Linked DNA regions of Homo sapiens: regions 2 and 3 are each linked to region 1. The links are contacts of gene promoters, found by promoter capture Hi-C in blood cells and fetal thymus (Javierre and others, 2016). All regions are on one chromosome and are shown on one strand. Each heading gives the region's core, a stretch centred on a gene start or on the middle of the fragment in contact. The rest is flanking DNA. Distances are from core to core; before and after follow the strand shown. Region 1 holds the start of KLHL20 (kelch like family member 20). Region 2 overlaps SUCO (SUN domain containing ossification factor). Region 3 holds the start of VAMP4 (vesicle associated membrane protein 4).

Region 1 (2,700 bases), core at 148-2,647:
TATTGTAGAATCTAGGATTGGCCTTTTTGGGTATATTTTTAAGTTTTTTGCATGTTTGACTACTGATGGCTCCACCTGGACCCACCAACTGTTCCTGTGGCTCCACCCAGAAACAACTCAGTAGGCAGGAGGACCATCTCCCATACCCCTATGACTGCACCAGTCAGCAGCAAGCACCCATTGCCTAGCCACCCCTACCCCTTTCCCCAGACTACCTTTGAAAAGAAACCTAGCCCCCAAATGCTCCAGGAGGCCGATTTGAGTAATAATATAACTGATTTGAGTAATAATAAAACTTCTTCCATTTTTCCACTCGATGTTGTGTAAAACTCTTTCTCCATTGCAATCCCTATACCTTGATAAATCATCTGTATCTGGGCAGCAGGCAAGAAGAATCCACTGGGCCACTATATCTGGATCTAAAGGCCATGTATTTTCCACTACAAGCTAATTAACAAGAGGTATCCTTTCCCCTCAGAAACAACTGGACACACCTGTGTAGATTCTACATAAAGAACAGCTAAAGAAAATCTGGTTAATACTTAGCCTAGTATACTTACCAGGAAATCAGCAACAGTCTTTCTCTGATATTCCTGAAATTGTAATCCCCACCTTACACTTGTATCACTTGTTTTCTAAATATTAATATACGGTAAAAATCAGGTGGCTGTGTGCTATGGGAAAATCTGGAGGAAAAGATAATTTTAAAAATATACTTTTTTGGCTCTGCTTGCTACTGAAAAAAAATTTTTTTAAGAAAATATACTCTTCCCTCCTTAACATTAAAGTGAATCCACAGAAGATGTGTTTGGTGAAGTGTCTGGTGGTGAATACTAAGTAGAAAGGGCAGACTAACACAGCCTTAGAGCCTGGATAAAATCCTGGTGTCCTGAAAGTTTGACCGTGGGAAATCTGGAGGATAAGGTCTATCTCTGGTCTGTCTATCTAACTTCTGCACCTTGCACATAGTAGAGGCCTGACAGATACATGCCAACCCATGTGTGCATGCAATAATTCAATCCACAATTAGGAACATTGTGCCAAAAGGAGACCCACCAACTAAAAAGAAATACAAATTCTTAGCTTTCTGTGACTACCCTTTACTGCCTTTGCTGGCGAAAACAAAGAAGAAAAGAGGAGGCTTCAGTATTCAAATACTGCCAGTTCCGCAGTGAATTCTAAAAATGGTTACTCTTGGGATACAAGGAACCCCCACGAGGATAAACAACCTCTGAGGTTACCTGAATGCCCCAGCAAAGGGCACGACTACTTCCGGAGCCGCACCGGAACCCCTTGGCGGATTATGTGGGTTCCTGCGGGAACGATTTAAGAATAGGACTACTTCCTGCTTCTGGATATGGGCCGGTGAAGGGAAAGGAAATAGCTCTACGAGCGGCATCCTGCCTGCGTTAGCGGCGGTGGAGGAGGAGGCAGAGAGGAGTGGAGGGCGGAGTAGACGGAGGAGGCTGCTGCAGAGAAGAAAGTGTCAGAGCCGGTAAGTGAGCCAGTCACCTTAGAGCAGGGGACAGCGGACAGCGCCCCAGGGCTCGCTTCGCAGATATGTGGTCCCAAGTTGCTGAGCTGCCCCATGGGGTCAGGTCGGTCGCCTGTCAGTCGGCGCCGAGAAGAGACTGTTGGGGCGCTGGGGCCGGGCCTCGCGGAGCGCCAGAGTGCGCTCTCGCTGGCTGACAGCCTATCTCGGGAGCCAGAGGAGGCCCCGGGCTTTGTCCTGCCTGGTGGTGCTGGGGTTTCGCATCCTGGACAGCTTCCCCAGACAGTGTTTGGAATTCAGGGAAGGAAGAAAGTACGTGCGCCCCCATTTAACCCTCGGGACCTGGCGAAATCCTGCTACGTGGGTAGTGAACATTGTATCGGGGACTGAAGGAAATGCTTGTAAAGAGTGTTAGTCTGGAGCCATACTTTCCCTGCCCTGTTCAAGCTCCCTGGACTGTCGGAAGCGGAGTTGTTTGTAAAGGCAAATGCAGACGCCTCCTCCTCCTGTCACTTCGGGACAAGTTAACAATCTTCAGATTCGTTATTAAAGCCTCGTGTACCCTATGTGATCTATCAGGTTAGTACTGCTGTGGGTATCTGGTGCTTGTTCTGTAAATATACTTGATGTCGAGATCACAGTTAAATATCTCCAAGCACTTTTTGAAGAGAAACAAGACTGACCTAACAGTCGGGACTATTTAGCATACTTTCCCTCACCTTTACTTTAATCGTTTTAGCATGCAGAGTAAGGATGGTAATCTTAAATGTACTAGATTAAGTTATTGTGCATCTGCAGAAGGCCTGTGGTATAATAGGATATGAAACTCTTGATAACTGACGAAATGAGTGAAATGATTATATAAAGATTGTTACTGTAAAGATCAGAAATAGCTTTTATTAAGTTCCTGCTTTTCTGTTGTCTTAGGTTCGGCTTTAGAGTGTGGTGAAGGGTACTTTTCATGGTGCATGGAAGGAAAGCCAATGCGCAGGTAGGCATTTAGGAAGAAAACCTTTGGTTTCACTGATTAAAATTCAGCATGTAATAATTTAAATTTTTAAAAAAGAGTTTCAATCTTACTAAATTCTGCTTGGAACTAATGAGTCTTGTTCTACAATAAATCAAAAGTAATATTAAGAATTAATAGCTTTTTAATAGAATAAAATACAGAAGTTGTTTCTGAAAAGTGCTGTGGATTGTATGTAGTG
Region 2 (2,700 bases), core at 177-2,676, 1.2 Mb before region 1:
AGCACTTTTTCAATTGGTTTGGTGGAGAGGGTGTCTTAGATGTAGTGTGTGTAGTAGTTTTTGGTAATGCCCCTTAGTGACGGGAAGGTAAATGCTGTATTTTCAAGGCGGGAAGAGTGCTTTGTCCCTAAAGCACTCCTTAAGTTTTACGGAGTTTCTGTTAATCCCAGGCACTTCTGGAGTTTTTTGAGGAGCAGAGAAAGCTTGTAAGTCGAGGGACTGCTGTCACCGTACTTGGAAAAGCCATTCTTTCCTCCCAGGGAATTTCTTCAAAGATGTGTGACAATTGATGACTGAAAAGATGCTTCTTCAGTCTAGGCGATTTGCTGTTTGTTATATTAAAATAGAAATTAAGTTTCCTGTTTTGCTTATTTCTGCAAAGCACCAACACTATTTTCATTTTTATGGATGCCTTATGGATTCCAGAAGCACTGAAATTGTAGAGTTGTTGCTCACATAAAATAATACATAAACAAGGGGAAGAGAAAACACTCGCCTGGCTGAGGGATTTTTATTGGAAGAATGATAGAAGTTTTTGAGAACAAAAACAATTGACTTATTACCTTTCATTCTGAATCCTTTTAATACCCGTCTCCTGTTTTTAATAAAATCCTCCCCTTTCTACTTACTGTGTTGGGTACGGAGAAGTGCCTGTAAGAGATAAATCCACTCACCTCATTTTAAATTTAAATTTGTAGATACTGAAGCTTGTATTCATTTCCATCTCTTTCTGGGGCTGCCTAGTTATATTTGTAGACTGTGTATTTTCTTTCCTCTTTCTTCTTGGTCTTGCCCATCTTTAAACCATGTTATTCATCATCAAAAGTTTCTGAAATGGCTAATAAGGAAAAGGTGAACACTTTCATTCAAGTTTAAAAACACACCAGTATCTCTGGCTTTTTTTAATTTTTTAATTGGATGGTGTAAACGAAATCAAGCAATAGAATGTGATTCTTACAATCATTTGTAAATTTAAGTTAACTCTGCTTCTATTTCTTTTGGGAATTTCTGGCTATCTTTTGATTAAGCTAACCCTCAGTATGTTTTCTCACCTTCAATCATTAGCTCTAGTGAAGAGCTAATGAATTTCCCTGTTAGGGAACAAATCGGTTGGCCTGGTATTGAAAGTAGTAGTAATAAACTTCTGTCAAGTTTTTTAACTCCTAGTGAGGAAAATGGATGTGGAGAGTTTAAGAGTGTGAACATTTTAAGAAACTTTAGCTTAAGAAACTATTGGGTTAGTATATTTTGAGATTTGTTTAGACTGCCAAATTTAGAGACATTTTAATTATTCTTTAGCAAAACGATTAAAAGGCATTAAAATAGGACATTAAGGCTTAAAGGGTTTTTTAAAGGGTGATGATGATGAATGAGATTGGGGAAGAGGAGTGGTACCTGGTGCTGATTGGCAAAGGGTATGTTTTTTCTTTGAAGCCTCTGCTTTTGTGCCAAGTTGGAATTAATGGCACTTAATGGATTTCTAACTTTTGCTGCAATCTGGTGTGGTATTTCTTTTCCCAACAACCTCATTCCCTTTAACAGAAATGGCTACCAACAAGTCCTAGGGTTAGATAAAACGTTTGCAAGAGTTGATGAGTGCCTTTTAGTAGCCACTTTTGTCTCTTTTGTTATTCACAAATTGTCTCAAAATTTTGTGATCCGTTTCTGTTTTGTACATTGAGTGCTGTATGTCTGTTCTACAGTATTCTAGTTTCTGAGGTTTCCCCTCTCATGCTACCAATATTACTGTGTTATGTTTACTATCATAATTTTGTAGATCTTGATTATGTCTCCCCTCTGCTTTTGTCTTGTAGCCTTGAGTACTAACCTTAGATTATGTTTACAGAAAAACCATTTCATCTATGTCATTATTAATTTTTGTTGCTGTTTTTTCCTTTTGCATAGTTTATAATTTTTGATCAAGTAGTATAGAGTATTCTAGGCATAAATGCACTATAGCTGCAGCACAGAGCAATGATAGCTAATATTTGCTGACAGCTGTGTGTCAGACACATGATGTTTACTTGACAATAACACCTTTAATCTTTATAAGAACCCTATAAGATAGGTATTATTATTAACTTCCTTTTGCATTTTACATGTGAGGAAGTAGAGAGGTTAACTTGGCTAAGTTTAAGCAGCTGTTAAGCTTCGGAGCTTAAATTTGAACCTAGGCAGCACAGGCTCCTGAGTACTTTATAGGTCAGAGGCCTGTATTTTATATATGTGGCTCCATCATTTACTAGATATGTGTTCTTTGACTTGTTATGTAACTTCTTTGAACCTTAGTTGTTATATCCTCAGAATGGGGAAATTGATCCATTCATACTTCACAGGGTTGTTAGGAGGATGAAATAATACAAATGACAGATCTTTGTAACACAGTAACAGCGTATTATGTAAATATTTCATCATAACATTATTCAACCACATTTTGTTCTCATACCTACTGTGCCAGATGTTTTTATGAGCACCGAAAATCCAAGATAGAGGGTCACCAGCTTGTCTTGGTTTTAACACTGGAAGTCGCATAACCTAGGAATTCCCTGCATTAGTTTCTTATGCCTGCTGTAGCAAATTGACACAAATTTAGTGGCTTGAACAACACACATTTATTACCTTACAATTCTGTGGATGAGAAGTCCAAGATATGTCTCACAGGGCTAAATAAAGTTAAGATGTCAACTGGGCTCGTTCTTT
Region 3 (2,700 bases), core at 81-2,580, 2.0 Mb before region 1:
AATGAGGCTGCCTCAACATCCCAAAGCAAACAACGGGCAGACTTATATAATGCCTTTATAAGACATACAGTAAAACTACAATCTTAAGGATGAGCAAACACCATATTCAGGTCTCTTAATCCCAAGAAACCATGTGCAACAAATAGCCCATCAGCAAAGCAGTAGGCAGATTAATTAGCTACCTTGATGAACTTTGATGTTATTTGCAACTGATTATTAGTAACTGATATGTGTATCAAACAACTAGTAGAAATAAATCATGCTCAGAAAGTAGACTAGGATATAGTCTGCCTAAGATTTCTCCTACAAAAAAAGACATGTGAATTCAGCTGTTTGTGACTAGGTATACATGTAAATAAGAGAGCCATCATGTACTTCCACATTGAGGATAGACCACCACTATACAATTCACTCAAATGAGTCACATCACCGTATGCTTCTTATACATCAGCATATACTTAAATGTCTATGTGTGCGTTTTTGTAAGTAGTACGTTATCTAGTCAATAGCTTTGAATCTGGGCAAAGGCTCTCCTTTTCCCAGCCTCCATTCTCTTTCTGATTCGTCTTCCTTGTCTGTCATCAGCCTTCTTGCTTGATGCAGTTTCACAGAAATAAAGTGACTTGGATGGACACAGACCGGAGATATTATTTGCAAAACCTGTCAAGTGTAACGATTCACCCCCACCTTCCGGTCATTATAAACACAGCAGGGTTGGCGCTCTTTCCCCCGGGCCCTTTAAATACACAATTTCAGGCAGCTCCGTTCACCCCCCACACCCAATCTGTCACACCAGGCCACGTCCCACGATATATCTGCTCCTAACGCTGGCCCTTCCTGCCCCATTGTACCCCCTGGAATTCCTCACTACATCCCACTCTTAACAAACCTTCCCCATCCATGGTACTGTTCTCTTCCCATCACCCCAGAGTACCCCTCAATTCCAATTCTTCTCTCCCTCAACTGCTCCTCGTCCGCATACCCCTGTCCTCGTCTTCCTTCCTCACGGCACCCCCGGCCCCAACCTTTTCCCACTCCGGGGTCCCTTCCTAGATCCCCGAGGCCCGCCGACCAGCCCGACTAGGACGTCGGGGGGCGGCAAGGCAGGGGCGTCTTCTTCGTTTCCTTCCTCCTCACACCAGCCCCTCCCGCTGCGAACAGGCCAGCGCCAGTACCTGAGGCTCCCGGGGAACTCCCGGCAGCTCTCCCGGGCTGGCGGTGCTGGGCGGGCGGGGGAAGGAGTAGGAAGCCGAGGTAAGAAGCTGGGAGGGGGAGACAGTTGGTGCGGACCCGGCGTCGGCCGCAGCGCCGCAGCAGCGCCTCCGCTCATCGAGCCGATCGGCGCTCGGCGGCCTGGCGCCAGGCGGAGGGGGCGGGTCCAGGGCACGGAGATAATCGAGGAAGTCGATCCGCCGAGCCCTATTCACCTAAAAGAGCCCGAACCCACACGCAGTTTAGATGCATCTCTCCAAATTTATGCTGTGCTTTAGGGGAGGAACAACCACTGGTTGTCCACGTTCCGGTCGTGATCCGGCGTGCGTGGAGGGCGATTAGGGGAGGAGTGGGAAACTTCCGAGAACCGCTCGGGACTGGGCGCCGCGCCGGAGTGCGTGGCTGGGGTGATGAGGCGTTAGAAAGAAGGTGGTGCTTGGTGGCACATCCGTCCCTCTGGCTGACTACGTTGAGTGGCAAGTGGAGAGTGGCTCGCAGCTCGAGGACCTGCTTCGGGTTCGTCTGGGGCCTTTTCTGAAGAAAGGAGATCTGTTTGATCCCCTGTTTACAGAATTAGAGCTAGACTTGGAAAGAGATGTTAAGGCCAGGCTCCTCCCTTTAGATAGGAGGAATATCTGGTTCAGAGAGGAGATTGACTTAAAGTTAACACGGCTAGTTTAGATAGATACGGGACGAGGGCTCGGTGTTCTTTTCCCGGTATCCCTTAGTTGTAACCTGAAAGCCTTCAGGAAATCGCCCTCGCCAGGCCATTCCGCCACTCTGCCCATTCCTTCCTCACTCCCTCCCCCTCCGCCCAATTTGGTATCATGTTTAGATCTCCACGCCCGCAGTAGCTGTCTACCAGAAACAATTCCTAATTTTGTTTTTCCGTTCTCTTATTTGTTTTATTATCCGTTCCTCCCACGCCCCAGCTGGATTATTTTACTCATTGAATCATATTCACTACACATCTTTTAAAATTAATACAGTATCTATGGGTCCTTTGTTGATACAGTATTTTAACTGTCTGAAATACTGTGCCAGGCACTTTCTAAAGACATAAAAATAAGAGGGGGTGTTCAAGAACAAGAGTAGACAAGAAAACAGCAGGAGGAAAGATCTGCGGACACTAAAGGAAAGGAAAGAATAGACACCCTCTTACCAAAAAGTTGTTCTTCTTTTGTTTGATGTTTATTTTTATGTAAAAATGTACTAACGAATTTGAAAGATGCCATGACTAAGGCAACGATGCTCCACTCTGATTCACTTGGAGTTGAATCACTTGGAAAGCTTTTAAAACTACGTAGGTGCCCACGTGCTACCTAGATTCTGATTTAAATGTTCTGAGATTTAGAAACAGCCGTTGAGTTGTCAGTTGAAGGTTCTGAAAGCTTAATGCTAAACTCAGTTGCCTGTGTTTATTCAGTCCAAGTTGCTGTCCAAGTCAGCAACTTGGACTGAAACGGCCCACTTAGAAGAGAAGCCTCT

What was found. The method cuts DNA at HindIII sites, captures the fragments that hold promoters and counts their contacts. A CHiCAGO score of 5 or more calls a contact.
Region 2: a contact is called between a fragment that was not itself captured here and the fragment with the promoter of KLHL20 in region 1, in 2 of 17 cell types (naive CD8 T cells and total CD4 T cells). The highest score is 5.3, in naive CD8 T cells.
Region 3: the fragment with the promoter of VAMP4 here is called in contact with the fragment with the promoter of KLHL20 in region 1 in 2 of 17 cell types (naive CD8 T cells and total CD4 T cells); the score reaches 10.2 in naive CD8 T cells.

Annotation. Positions count from the first base shown.
Region 1 is chr1:173,713,584-173,716,283 of GRCh38, forward strand. It overlaps KLHL20 (kelch like family member 20), which reads left to right and starts at 1,398. Exons shown (of 12, transcript NM_014458.4): 1 at 1,398-1,495; 2 at 2,420-2,483. The coding sequence starts at 2,461. It also overlaps a transcript of ANKRD45 not described here. RefSeq lists enhancers at 1,302-1,491, 1,572-1,941. The HindIII fragment of the contact is 9,904 bases long and covers 1-2,700 here.
Region 2 is chr1:172,534,063-172,536,762 of GRCh38, forward strand. The region is part of intron 1 of SUCO (SUN domain containing ossification factor); the gene reads left to right. Among named protein-coding and RNA genes, the nearest start is that of SUCO, 2.3 kb to the left of the region's middle. The HindIII fragment of the contact is 1,442 bases long and covers 706-2,147 here.
Region 3 is chr1:171,740,735-171,743,434 of GRCh38, forward strand. It overlaps VAMP4 (vesicle associated membrane protein 4), which reads right to left and starts at 1,331. Exons shown (of 8, transcript NM_003762.5): 1 at 1,176-1,331. The HindIII fragment of the contact is 4,907 bases long and covers 1-2,500 here.